Linked DNA regions of Homo sapiens: region 2 is linked to region 1. Evidence: promoter capture Hi-C in 16 types of primary human blood cells and fetal thymus (Javierre and others, 2016). All regions are on one chromosome and are shown on one strand. The core of a region is centred on a gene start or on the middle of the fragment in contact, and the rest is flanking DNA. Distances in the headings are between cores, read along the strand shown.

Region 1 (6,457 bases), core at 2,740-5,239:
CAGCCTCCCGAGTAGCTGGGATTACAGGCATTTGCCACCACGCCTGACTAATTTTGTATTTTTAATAGAGACGGGGTTTCTCCACGTTGGTCAGGCTGGTCTTGAACTCCCAACCTCAGGTGATCTGCCTGCCTCGGCCTCCCAAAGTGCTGGGATCACAGGCATGAGCCACCGTGCCTGGCGATACCAAAGTAAGTTAAATCATATTTATTCAAATTTCTTAACATATGGTTCCCATTTTACAGATGAGGAAACAGCTTTTGGTTGGCTAAGGAACTTGACCAAGGTTATGCAGCCAGTAATCAGCAAAACCAAGATTCAAAAACCAAGTCTGCTTGCCTCCAAAGACTACACCCAGAGTCAACAGAGCTGATACTTCATTAATAGAAACTGACCTGAGGCTTAGAAGTAAAAGTCTACAGTACAATATATTCTTTCAAAGCAGCAGGAAGTATGTAATTCATTTAAAGTATTTCCATTTAAGATAACTTACTTCATGAAACCCAAGAAGCTATCAGTTTTAAGATTCATCATTTTTCTACATGAAAAACACTGCCAAGTAAACCATAACCTGTCATTGATAGTAATACAAGTCCCACTTTCAGGAACATTAAAATGTGAAAAAAAAATGTTCATCTTAAAGGAGATGATACATAGTTTTTTTTTGTTTGTTTGAGATGGAATCTCACTGTTGCCCAGGCTGGAGAGCAGTGGTGCCATCTCGGCTCACTGCACCTCTGCCTCCGGGGTTCAAGTGATTCTATCGCTTCAGACTCCCGAGTAGCTGGGACTACAGGCATGCACCACCATGTCTGGCTAATTTTTGTATTTTTTAGTACAGATGGGGTTTCACTTTGTTGCCCAGGCTGGTCTCAAACTTCCGACCTCAAGTGATCCATTTGCCTCGGCGTCCTAAAGTGCTGGGATTATAGGTGTGAGCCACCACACCGGGCCAAAGGAGATGATACTCAGTTTCTTAAAGTGTTTGCGCATACTATCTTCATTACTGAAGAATTTCTGTTATCTGGAAACATTCTTTCTAGACTGTTACTAAAATTCATCAAGGTCAAAGCTAAATTCTTACCTGTGGGTAAGAGATGAGTTGTCTGTACAAATTTTTGTCAAATGATTTGATGTGTTCACAGTTCACATTTAAAAATGGCTCACCAATAACATTAATCTAGAAAATAAAAATGAACAAGTTATATTTTGCTAATTTAACTATTTTAAAACACGTAACTTGAATTTAAAGAGTATTTGATTACCTCCCCAAGTCGTTGCATGTATAGAGGTTCAGTAATATCTATGCCAACATTTTCTTCTTCTTTAGCCAGAGGGTCAATAAAACGCTGAAGAAATCTCTTTAAGTGGAGAGAAAACTGTATTAGGCATATAGCATTTGGGAACAGGCAACTACTAAAAACACACAAAGTTATGAGTATGTCACTATCAGGAGACAGAAATAAATAATATTTTTCTTCCTTTTTCTTTTCTAAAATTTAATTTGGAGATGGAGTCTCACTATATTGGTCAGGCTGCTATCAAACTCCTGGCCTCAAGTGATCCTCCCACCTTGGCCTCCCAAAGTACTGGGATTATAGGTGTGAGCCACCACAGGTGGCCCTTCTAGTCATTATGGCTACTTAGATATAGATTATAAACACGGTCTCCCAACATTTTCAGAGCCCAAAGTAAGAATTTTAATACATGTAGCTCACCTGAAAGTTTTCTTTGCATGCTGCCACATTTACATCTGTTCCCCAGATCACAAGTTTTTGGCCTAGAGACTGCTCACTTGCCACTATATCTTCTGCTGCTGCCTACACAGAAAAACATGACAGAATCATGAAAACAGAGTTACCCACATGATACCCGCCATAAGATGGTTTCAGGAGACTGCATACTCACCCCGTCAGACTGCAGATCCACTTGCAGGCCCTTCTGTGCAGAGCCCAGGTCAGGCCTCTGTCTCACAGGTGTGCCCCTAACACCACTTCTTGGGGTTCCCTCTACCCGAGAGCTGGGAGTGCCGTATGTCAGTGGTGAACTAACATCAAAGTCAAGAGGGATAGCTATAAAAACAAAATTAGGAAATTCTGGTGGCATATCAAACCTGAAATTACAGCATGTTGTCTGTTGATCTATACCATCTAATCGCAACAGCAAACTGAATATTTATTGCAACCTGCGGTGGCTGAGATTCTGAGCACTCTTAAATGTTCTATTAAAAAAAAGCACCAGAGAAGCTGCTTCCTCTGCTCACTAAGCCCTAAAACTACTATTTTCTGCACTCCGTTCAGCTCCTCTGGTTAAGAACATGCTCAGTCACGTGCAGAGGGGATGCTTTAGGCGTTATGCCAACTGTTATAAAGCCAGTAAACCTGAGCAGATAAAGCATCAGCTGTGTATCAAGCACAGCAAAACCAAGATCTTCAGACACGCACCTGAAGAATGCATTTGGGGAGGGCTGGAAAACAGCACGTCCTGCGCAGCAGGGCTCTGCAGGTCCACTCCAGGCGAGGTTGGCATCGGCTGCAACTCCCCCGTGGAGGTGGAATCCTCGCCTCTACGTCTCTGAGAGGGAGATGACCTGGCATCCTCACTCCGAGCTTGTGTCACACAAAACAGAAAAGACAGCCATTAACTTTCAGGGCCGGCCTTCCTGGATTTGTCTTTTCCTTGGGGCATTATGACTCACCACTGAACCAAACCAAACAGAGGCAAATGGCAATCGAATTAAGCAGCACCCAGGCCACAGCCTGCTGTGGGTGTCTGTGCGCACCAAGCGGCAGCGCCCAGCCCGAGGCTGAGCGCCCGGGTCCCGCGCACCCACCCAGCGCTGCCAGCTGCGGCGAGAGGGCAGACGGGGCGGCGCCGGGGGCTGTAGTGGGCCCGGCTCGGGGGACTCACGCGTCTGGGCGGGGGTGGCCCTTCCACGCCGGCTGCCGCGGCGGCTCGGGGTCGACGCCGGGGACGACATAGTGCTCGGAGTACCTGCGCGACAAGGACAAGCTCGGGCCGGGCCCGCCTCCCGGCTTCCCTGCCCTGCTCCGCAGCGCGGACGTTCCCGTCGGCTCCGCGCCACGCCCTCCCCGCCGGCGCGCGGTTACCGTGGAAAGGCGGCCGCTTGCCGACGACGCTCGCGGACTCCGAGTCCACCTGGCGAGTAGCGCTCCCAAACCGCGAGACCCAGAGTTCCCGCCGGCGGCAAGGTCGTCTCCGCCCCTGGCGGGGCCTCACCAATCACAGCGGCGCTCGTACGTGGCTCCGCCTCCGGGAGGCGCCACTGCGCATCGGCAGGGGGGGACAGTGCCGCTTCTTTCAGCGCCCGTGCGTAAACCAGAAGTAGGCCTCGCTCGGCCCCCCTTGGTCCAGATGGTCTGACCCCCTGCGCGGCAGCGTTTTCGCGGGAAAACTGGGTCCTACAGCACCAGCTCTCGGGGTGTGTTCCTCTAGCGTTGGCTAGGGAGCGTGTGCTTCTTTATCCCTTAGGCGTTTTTGGTTAATAAGGACATTACAGATGCATTTCTCACTTAAAGATTTTTTTTATTAAAAAAAATTAAGGACGGGAGGTGGTGGGGATGGTCTCATTATGTTGCCCAGACTGGTCTCGAACTCCTGCGATCCCCCCGCCTCAGCTTCCTAAAGTGTTGGGACTGCAGGCGGGCATCACCGCCCCCGACCGCGTTTGTCGTTTTTTATCGAGGAACAAACTTGGAACTCTTGACCTAGGCCCCTCGCTTGTTTTATCTGCCTCTGGTATTTATTTAGCCAAGTCCAACACCAAGTAGCCACCCAAACTACCTCCGCAGGTCAGACGTTTTTCCTTAGGTTTCCATGTTGATTCGGGCCAAAGAGGCGCGCTTACTGGCCAGGCCTTCCCGCAGGGGTCCCCGGGAAAGTTCCTGCCGCCGCGCCCCGCAGCCCCGCCTCCGCGCGTAGGGGCATTTCCGGGTCCGGGCCGAGCGGGCGCACGCGCGGGAGCGGGACTCGGCGGCATGGCGGGCTCCGGAGCCGGTGTGCGTTGCTCCCTGCTGCGGCTGCAGGAGACCTTGTCCGCTGCGGACCGCTGCGGTGCTGCCCTGGCCGGTCATCAACTGATCCGCGGCCTGGGGCAGGAATGCGTCCTGAGCAGCAGCCCCGCGGTGCTGGGTGGGTACCGGCCCGAGCTGGGCCGCGGGTGGGTCCTGGCTTCCCGAGTCGTTCTGGAGCCGGGCAGCCCGGCGCTTCTCTGTGTTTAGATGACGGTATTTTGAAGTACAGCAATTAGATTCTTGGGGGAATTTCTGTGTATGTGTATAAAGGGATTTGTCATACTGCTTTTTACCCCCTAGTATTAGAGGAAAGATATTTTAAAGCCAAAGTTGGTGAAAACGACCCCTAATATGGCAATCATTGCTATGCAGAGTGGGGGGCAGGGCAAGAGAAATAATTTTTTTTTTTTTTGAGACGGAGTCTCGCTCTGTCGCCCAGGCTGGAGTGAAGTGGCGCGATCTCGGCTCACTGCAACCTCCGCCTCCCGGGTTCAAGCTATTCTCCTGCCTCAGCCCCCCGAGTAGCTGGGATTACAGGCGCGCGCCACCACGCCCGGCTAATTTTTTTGTATTTTTAGTAGAGATGGGGTTTCACCATGTTGGTCAGGCTGGTCTCGAACTCCTGACCTCGTGATCCCCCCGCCTCGGCCTCCCAAAGTGCTGGGATTACAGACGTGAGCCACCGGGCCCGGCCAAGAGAAAGTATTTTCTTTCACCTGAATCTCGCCTAATCCCACCAGTACCTTTTCCAAACCCCTCTATTTGCCGTTCCTACTTTGAGAAAAATTGAAGAAATGTAATTGAAGTCATGTTCTTTTAACTCTTTAGCAATGCCTGGGTGGGAACTTTTTCCCCTTTGTAGTAAAAGTGCCTCTTTTTAGCATTTTAAATATTCAAATACTTAATTATGTGGATCTCCTGTATTCCTTCTTTAAAACACGAGTATGCAGACCTTGATGTTGTGCCCTATTAAAAGGTGAGATTTTCTTCCGGAGGGTCTAGTAGTGAATATGGTGTAGGAATAACTTAAACAGTTTAAACTAGATGCTATATGTGGCACGGTGCGGTGGCTCATGCCTGTAATCCCAGCACTTTGGGAGGCTGTGGCAGCTGGATCACCTGAGGTCAGGAGATGGAGACCAACCTGACCAGTATGGTGAAACCTTGTCTCTACTAAAAATACAAAAATTAACTGGGCATGGTGGCGAGCGCCTGTAGTCCCAGCTATTCGGGAGGCTGAGACAGGAGAATGTCTTGAACCCAGGAGAAGGAGATTGCAGTGAGCCGAGATTGTGCCACTGCACTCCAGCCTGGGCAACAGAGCACGACTCCGTCCCAAAAAAAAAAAAAAAAAGATGCTATATACATGTATCCTATATGTACTCTATCTGTTGTCAAGAATATATTAACAATGGGGAAATATCAAACAAAAAACTAACATTGCGTGATTACTTTCTCTTCTCAGGGTTTCAAATTTAGAATTCATTTTTGTTCGTTTAGTAACTTGTTTCTAAAGCACTTCCAAGTTTACCTTCCATTTATGCCATATCTCCTTTCACTTGAGAGATTCCAGGGGAAGTGTATTAGTTCCTTATTGCTGCTGTAACAATTACCACAAGCTTAGTGGTTTAAAACAGCACAGGTCTGTTACTCTTACAGTTCCCACTGTAAGGGGGATTCTGTGAGTCAGAATCCCACACAGGTCTCACCAAGCTAGAACCAAAGTACCAGACAGGGCTGCTTTCTTTCTGAAGGCTCTTGGGGAGGATCCATTGCCTTATTCATTCAGGTTATATAGGATTGAGGTCCCTGACATTCCATACTTCTTGAAGCTGTCCCCTTTCCTTGGATCACAGCTCCCTTCCCTTGGTCTTCAAGGCCAGCAACAGCATGTCAAGTCCCCCTAACTAGAGGTTTGGAATCTCCCGCTTTCCCAACTTCCTGTCTCTCTGACCCACTCTTCTTCATCTCCTTACTTTAAGGGCCTGTGTGATTACATTGGGCTCTCTGGATAATCCAGTATGATCTTCCCATTTTAAGGTCAGCTGATTAGCTACCTTAATTCCATCTGCAAGCTCAATTTCCTTTTGCTATATACATTTAACATATTCACAAGATGTGACCCCAGGGATTGGGATGCAGGCATCTTTGGGGCCATTATTTTGCGTACTGCATCCCTGTGGAACATTGTCTAGAATTTTCTGCTTTGTTTTAATACAGCAACCTTGGGTTAGTGTTTTATATTTATAAGGCTGCCTTGAAAACCGTTGCAACCTTGGCCAGGCGCGGTGGCTCACGCCTGTAATCCCAGCACTTTGGGAGGCCGAGGCGGGCTGATCGTGAGGTCAGGAGATCGAGACCATCCTGGCTAACACGGTGAAACCCCGTCTCTACTAAAAATACAAAAAAAAAATTAGCCGGGC
Region 2 (6,457 bases), core at 2,497-4,996, 1.0 Mb after region 1:
CCAGGCTCAATGTCTGGGAATCCAGTGGGGTGGTGGGGGCTGGGGGATGGTTCTGGTGTGAGTCCTGGAGTCCACAGGCCAGAGAGCTTGGAGTTCTGATGACCAAGGGCAGAAGTGTGTCCTAACTCCAGGAGAGAGAGCGGGATAATCACCTTTCCTCTGCCTTTTTCTTTAGGATTCTCTCCAGCTGATTGGACAGTGCCTACCCACATCCAGGGCATCTTCCCCACTCAGCCTTACCCACACCCAGGAATAATGCTTTATCGGTGCTCTAGGTATTTCTTAACCCAGTCAAGCTGGCGCACAAAATTAACCATCACACTGAGTAAAAAAGAATTGTCCTCACTGATGTGGGCTGGCATCCTGAACATAACAGAACAGAAGGCTGGGGAAGAGGGGATCTGCTGAGCTAAGGCACGCATCTACTCCTGCCCTCCAACATAGGGGCTCCTGGTTCTCAGGCCACTGGATGCTGATTGACCTACACCATGGGCTTTCCTGGGTCTCCAGCTTGCAGAGGACAGGTTATGGGGCTGACTCCTCAGCCTCTGTAATCACAATTTCCATAATAAATCCCCTTTCATATATCCACATATATACGCTATCAATTTTCTTTCTCTGGAGAACCCTGGCTAATCCCTACCTGAGATCTTGGCTGGGACAGGGCTGTTCCTCCCTCCTGTGATATTGGCAGGACTCGGTTCTCTGTGGGTTATTATGCTGAGCCCCTTGATTTCCTGATGGCTGTGGCTGCAGGACACCCTCAGTTCCTGGCCACACGGACAGCTCATGGTGTAGCAGCTAGCGTCATACAAGCTGGCAAGGGTGAGTGTCTGCTGTCAATAAGGATGTTACAATCTCATGTTATTCAATCACATCTGTCACAGAAGTGGCATCCCCTTGACCCTGAGAGATCCTAACATCACAGCGAGTTACTCAAGAAGAGGGAATTGCACTAGGCTGTGAATACCAGCAAGCAGGGGCTGCTGGGGCAATCTAGAGGCCACCTACTGCAGCCAGCCTGCTGGCCGCTGGTGATGCCACCCCCTGGCATCCAGGTCTTCATGTCACCTCTTCCCCTAAGTGTGGGCAGGACTTGTGGCCAATTCAACAGCCCACGAAATGCCAATCCTCCAAAGACAACATGAGCTTGGAAGTGGATCTCTCCCGAGTCACATTTTGAGATGAGACCTTCAACTCTGGTCAACATCTTGGCTGAAGGCTCATGAGACCTCCTAAGGAAAAGAACCCAGGTGAGCCCAGATTTCTGCCCCTCCAGAAACTGCGAGATGATGACTGCAAGGAATTTAAAGCTGGTATGTTTGTGGAAATGTGTCACACAGCAATAGATAACTAATGCACCATTTGCAATAATTCCTCCAATGGCAGGAACTGCCGACAAAAGGTTTGGGATGCTGGGAGGATTTCTGGTATGAAGAGATTCAGAAGCTGTGCATCTAAACTTCCCGGAGAGACTTAGTGTAGAGATAAACCCTGGGGTAAATGAAAAGAGAGCACTGTAGCAAGTCTGTGCATAAAGCACTGGCCTATGTGATACAGTGATTAACAAGTCCACCATGTATTATGCAATATTATAGAATACCCCTCTTTTCTGTGGCTCTTGTTAATTTTTTGTACCTCTGAATGGTTATGCACTTGGCAAAAAGTTCCTGATGTGTGAACATAAATGTCCAAAGCATGGGCCCGGCCTTTCCTTTCCTTGAAGTTTTCACTATTTATCACCAGACATCAACTATCTGTTTGAGTTTGGCACTGGAGATGCTGACCTGAGCTGGCCTCCTGGCATAGTTTTTTCACTGGGGGAAACTTTCACCCTAAAAATGGCATCCCTCTAGCAAGGAGTCATGTGTCTTGAATCCTACTTTCGGCTCAAATCCTGGGGTGCTATTGGCTGAGGAAAAGTCCTCCTTTTGCTGCCTTTGAGATGTTTGTAAAGCCCCATGGCCCCCCAGCCTGGCCTGTTTCCCCTGGGAGGCCTCCCCATGGGCAGGACATGCTATGTGCTTCTCATGCCTGATGGGGCTGCTCATGCAAGCCCAGGTGAAGTGATGGGTGATGGAACCTGGGAGGGATGGTGTGAGTCCTTATGCTTCTTGCCCTGGTGCTCAACAATTCTCCTTGGGACCCAAGTGGCCCCAGATGTTGGCATGCATCAGGAAGGATCCAAGAACAGCTGGGCTGGCCCGATGGTCTACCTCATGGGTTTCAGGGCACTGAGAGCTGGCCAGTCACATTCCCATGGCAGCCCAACAAGGCCCAGCAGAGGGGTGGGTGGTGGGATGGCAGGGCTTGTAGGGCAGAGCATTCTGATGGGCCAGGGCCTAGTTTGAGTAGGGCTGCTCTGTGGGCCTATATCCACAGGCATTGCTGTGGCTTTGGCCAAGACCTCTGGGCTCCCTGAACATCAGGCAGCCTCTCCTCCTTTAGGGAAGATGGACAGTTACCCCTGAGCAGGGCCATGCGGGGCAAAGCACAATGGTGGTTGTGAAGTTTTTTCAGAGACAAGATGCTGTAACCACAACACGTGTGGATTTCCACTGCAGGAGCACCCAGTGCCATGTTAAAAGACATGTGAGTTTGGAGTTTATGTGGGTATGGTATTGGCTTAGTGGTTTCTCCCCATCTTTTTTGTCTACTTTTCTCTTTGTCTACCTGCTTGCCATGAGCCTGAGGGCAGGGCCTGAATCCAGCAGCACCAGAACCCAGGTGGCCTGGCTCTCCAATAAATGGAAAAGAAAGCTGGGTGGAAATATGGAGGACAATGGTAAAGGCCTGGATTACAACTGAGTATAGACAGATCTGAAGTGGCCAGTGTCCAGGTGCTGAACTTATAATAGTCCATCCTATGCGGCTTAGCGATTCCAGCCATCAGCCATTCCTGGTCCCTGCTCTGCCTGCCTGCAGACACCAGGCTCCCCACAAGGCACTTTCCCACTGCCCTTGATCTCAGGGCATTCATGTCTCCCTGCTCTATTCGGAAACTATCCTGCACAGACCACAGCTAAGCACACCACTACCATAAGAGTCTAGCTGCATTTCTCTCTGGCCCCAACTCTGGCCCTCACTCCTCATTCTGGTTTCCTCTCTTTAACCTCTGAGCCTCTGCACTTGCTGTTCCTCTTGCCGAGCACACCCTTCCTCTCCATTCCACATAGTACAATCTTACTCATGCATCAAGCCTGAACACAGGAGGATGGCTCCGACCACTCGGTGAGTTCCCACTTCTCTAAATTCCTGTTATTAGATCACCAGTCCTCTTACTTTGTCCTCAATTGTAGTTGGACATGATTGATTTAAACGACAGAGGCATTTGTCTGGCTTCGTCTCTGAGACTGCCATCTCCCTGTAGACAGGGAGCAAACGTTGTGCATCTTCTATGTGTCTCCGCAGCTTGCATGGTGTTGGCAAGTAACCGAGACTGGCATGTGCATTGAGGTGGATGGGCGAGCAGGCCAAACACCGCTCCCAGGAAGATGGAGAAGATAGGCAGAAAGGCGGCAAGGATGCAAGACAGAGAAAAGCTTGGGGTGAAAAAATCCTACCTAGGTGCAGGTGCTGGGGCTGCAGACCCTAGAGCTTCTCAAAGGCAACTTGATGTTTTATAGTTCCATCCAGTCTCCAGCATCACCGTGTGGCCGCAGCATCTGTGGTATCCAAGCGACTTTATCCCTGGGGGAGTATGGGCATCTCCCTGGGAGGGTGTCCACAGGAGGACGTCAGGGCTCTGTGGGTGGCCTGGCATCTGGGGTCTGGGGATCGTGCTTGGAAGGAATCAGATAATGCCTGGAATCCAAGGCTTGACTCCTCCTTGTCTCCTAAGAGCTCCTTGGGAGTTGGGCTCCCGTTAAGTGGTTTTTGACCCCAGTTTTCCTGATTCTCAGATTCATCTGGCATGGAGGCTGGGTAGCTTTTCTGCATTCTGAAGCTTTCTTCCCACTGGCAGTGAGTTTATGGGAGTGCTTCTGTGCTGTTGTTCTATTTTTTACAGGAAAGGTTGAGTGACACTTCGAGGACAGGGCACACAGGCTGCCTTTGGGCCAGTTCCCAGCCAACAGGAAGTCACAGCTGGCTTTTGAGTTGGGAAGAGCTGGATTTCATTTTCATGTGACCCTGAGTCTGTTTCCTTATCCAGAAAACAGAGAGAACAATGGAATCCAGCTAACAGGGTTGGAGTGGGGAGGGATGGCTTACAGCAGAGCCTACCCGGGGACAGGCATGGCTGTGCTGGAGTGGCTGAAGCCACCTCACTCCTCTGAGCCTCAGCTCTCATCTGTAGAATGCTGCATCCTTAGGTCTGTCCCAGCTCCATTCCAGTCAGTCATGATGTGCTGATGGGCACCTCCCTGGCCAGGCGACCATCCATGGCTCAGCAGCCCAGCATAGGAACAGGTGTGTCTAAGAGCTTGGTGGGGCAGAGCCCACGTGCTCCCCCTTCACCGCCTTCCCCATCCCCAAAGGTCTCTGCACAGAGGCAGGTAAGCATATTTGGGAACAGAATAAAAGAGCAATCAAGGATTCTTTTGGGATCTGTGAATGACGGTAGTAACAGTTATTAAGCTCCTACTGTGTGCCAGAGAATTCTAGGAGACACTCCATGTGTGATAAATAACAGGACTCACAAGAGCCCCATGAAGGGCTGCTGTTGCCTGCGTTCTGTGGAAGTGGAAATTGAGCTTTAGAAGAATGAGCTGATCTGCCCATGACACACAGCTGGCAGGCAGAAGCGGAACCTGAGCCGACACCACCTGTGCAGACCCCAGGGCCTCTCACCTGCCCTCCCTAACCCAGAGGGATCTTCTTTATTTCAGCAGAGCCAGTGCATGGCACATGTGGATGGTGGGTCTCACCCCACATCCTCTGGGACATCGGCAAGAGACAGGAGTGACTTGGTGGGTGAGGGGCTGGCATGAACACCTAGCACAGTGTGGGGCAGGAGGGCAGGGCACTGCAGGACCTTGTGATGGGCAGCAGGGGCACAGCTTCCTCGGTGCCCTGTCCATTCATTTATCACTCAGCCATCTTCCGAGTGTCTGCTGGCAATGTGTCATCTGCCAGGCATCGTCTGATTCTCCTGGGTCTGACTGCAGACAGACTGTGCTGCCCTGGGAGCACGTGTCCCAAAGCAAGCCCATGGGAGAGGAGGGGTGACACCAATTTTTGCCCCACCCAGCCTGTTCCTCCTTCCCCTGAGCCCTGACCTGTCCTTCTCCAGGGGAGCCCCTGGCCTCCAGTCCCCTTCACCCAGACAACTCCGCAGCTCATTCTCCTTTCCAGGGCCCTCTGAGGATAAGCAACACAGGCTGTGTGCACTGAGATGAGAACTTCTGACCCTTTCTCCTCCTTTCCCTGGAGATCTAATTTAAAAGGTCTGGAGCAGGAGCCTGGGGGTCAGCGCATGGATTTTTGAAGGGCCAGTGAAGGTGCTGCCCTCTGGGCTTCTCTGGCAGCCTGCCTGGCCCCCTGTGCCTCTCCCCTCCTCCCCTCCCCTGTAACTGCCCAGCCCTGAGAGGAAACAGAGCTCCCTCCCTGAGGTCACAGCCTCCTGTGCATGGGCTGGCATCCCAAGCCCTGAAGGACAGGATGTCCTGATGAGCAGAAACCCTCTCCAGGCCTGGGATGAGTGTGGCAGCCACAGGAGTGGGCTCTCGGGTGGGATGGGTCCTTGGAGGGGCTGTTCCCACCCATCCCTGCTGGTGAGGGGTAGAGGAGTGTGAGGCCATCGGGAGTGGTCATGGGGGTCAAGAATGAAGCCATACTGGACAAGGTGAAGGCATGCTACTGCCCCATCAAAACAGGACAGAAACATGTGGCCTGTATGGAGAGTGGGGCTATGTAGGGCAGGGAGGGTGGCATGGAGGAGCCAGATACTCAAGGACCCCTCTTATCTAAGCGCCTTGTGGTGCCCCCTAAACAGCTCAGTGTGGAATGTTCAATGCCTTTGATGTTTCCCGGGCAGGGCTGGAACCGGAAAGGCTGATATCTTGGGTTTTCTACATCCCGCATCCCTCCCTTGTCACCGAGCGAGGAAAACCTTGGCCATGTCAGGACTGGTGGAAAGTCATCAGACTGGGCAGAATGCATGAGCTGCTCCTTGCAAAGGGGCCTGCACTGCTGGGAGGGCTGGTCTCTCAGCACCCTCTTCAGCCTGCAGGAGGCCCCACGGCCCCAGGGTTGTTGGCCTCTGTCCCTGGCCCTGTCCCAGCTTGTCCTGGTGCCCTGGTGGCAAGGCCTAGCACTTACTGTCTCCGGTGGCACCAGGGAAGAGACAAATACCCCACCAGGCCCTCCCGAGTCTATGTAGCCATGATCCTGGCTCTCTCCTCCCTCAATGACCTGTGGGCAACTACTTATCCATTCTCCAGATTTTTGCCAGTAAGAAATCCCCTCTAGGAAAATGAAAAGAAAAAAACTTCCAGAGAAACTTTCCCCAGTGCAG

What was found. The method cuts DNA at HindIII sites, captures the fragments that hold promoters and counts their contacts. A CHiCAGO score of 5 or more calls a contact.
Region 2: a contact is called between a fragment that was not itself captured here and the fragment with the promoter of PRKDC in region 1, in 1 of 17 cell types (total B cells). The highest score is 5.6, in total B cells.

The regions. Positions count from the first base shown.
Region 1 is chr8:47,957,668-47,964,124 of GRCh38, reverse strand. It overlaps PRKDC (protein kinase, DNA-activated, catalytic subunit), which reads left to right and starts at 3,989. Exons shown (of 86, transcript NM_006904.7): 1 at 3,989-4,152. The coding sequence starts at 3,999. It overlaps MCM4 (minichromosome maintenance complex component 4), which reads right to left and starts at 3,184. Exons shown (of 17, transcript NM_182746.3): 1 at 3,111-3,184; 2 at 2,911-2,994; 3 at 2,445-2,609; 4 at 1,909-2,072; 5 at 1,719-1,820; 6 at 1,266-1,361; 7 at 1,085-1,180. The coding sequence starts at 2,980. RefSeq lists silencers at 2,751-3,150, 3,821-4,120, 4,131-4,180 and an enhancer at 4,361-4,520. The HindIII fragment of the contact is 8,899 bases long and covers 1-5,655 here.
Region 2 is chr8:46,920,075-46,926,531 of GRCh38, reverse strand. No RefSeq gene overlaps it. Among named protein-coding and RNA genes, the nearest start is that of LINC00293, 82 kb to the right of the region's middle. The HindIII fragment of the contact is 404 bases long and covers 3,545-3,948 here.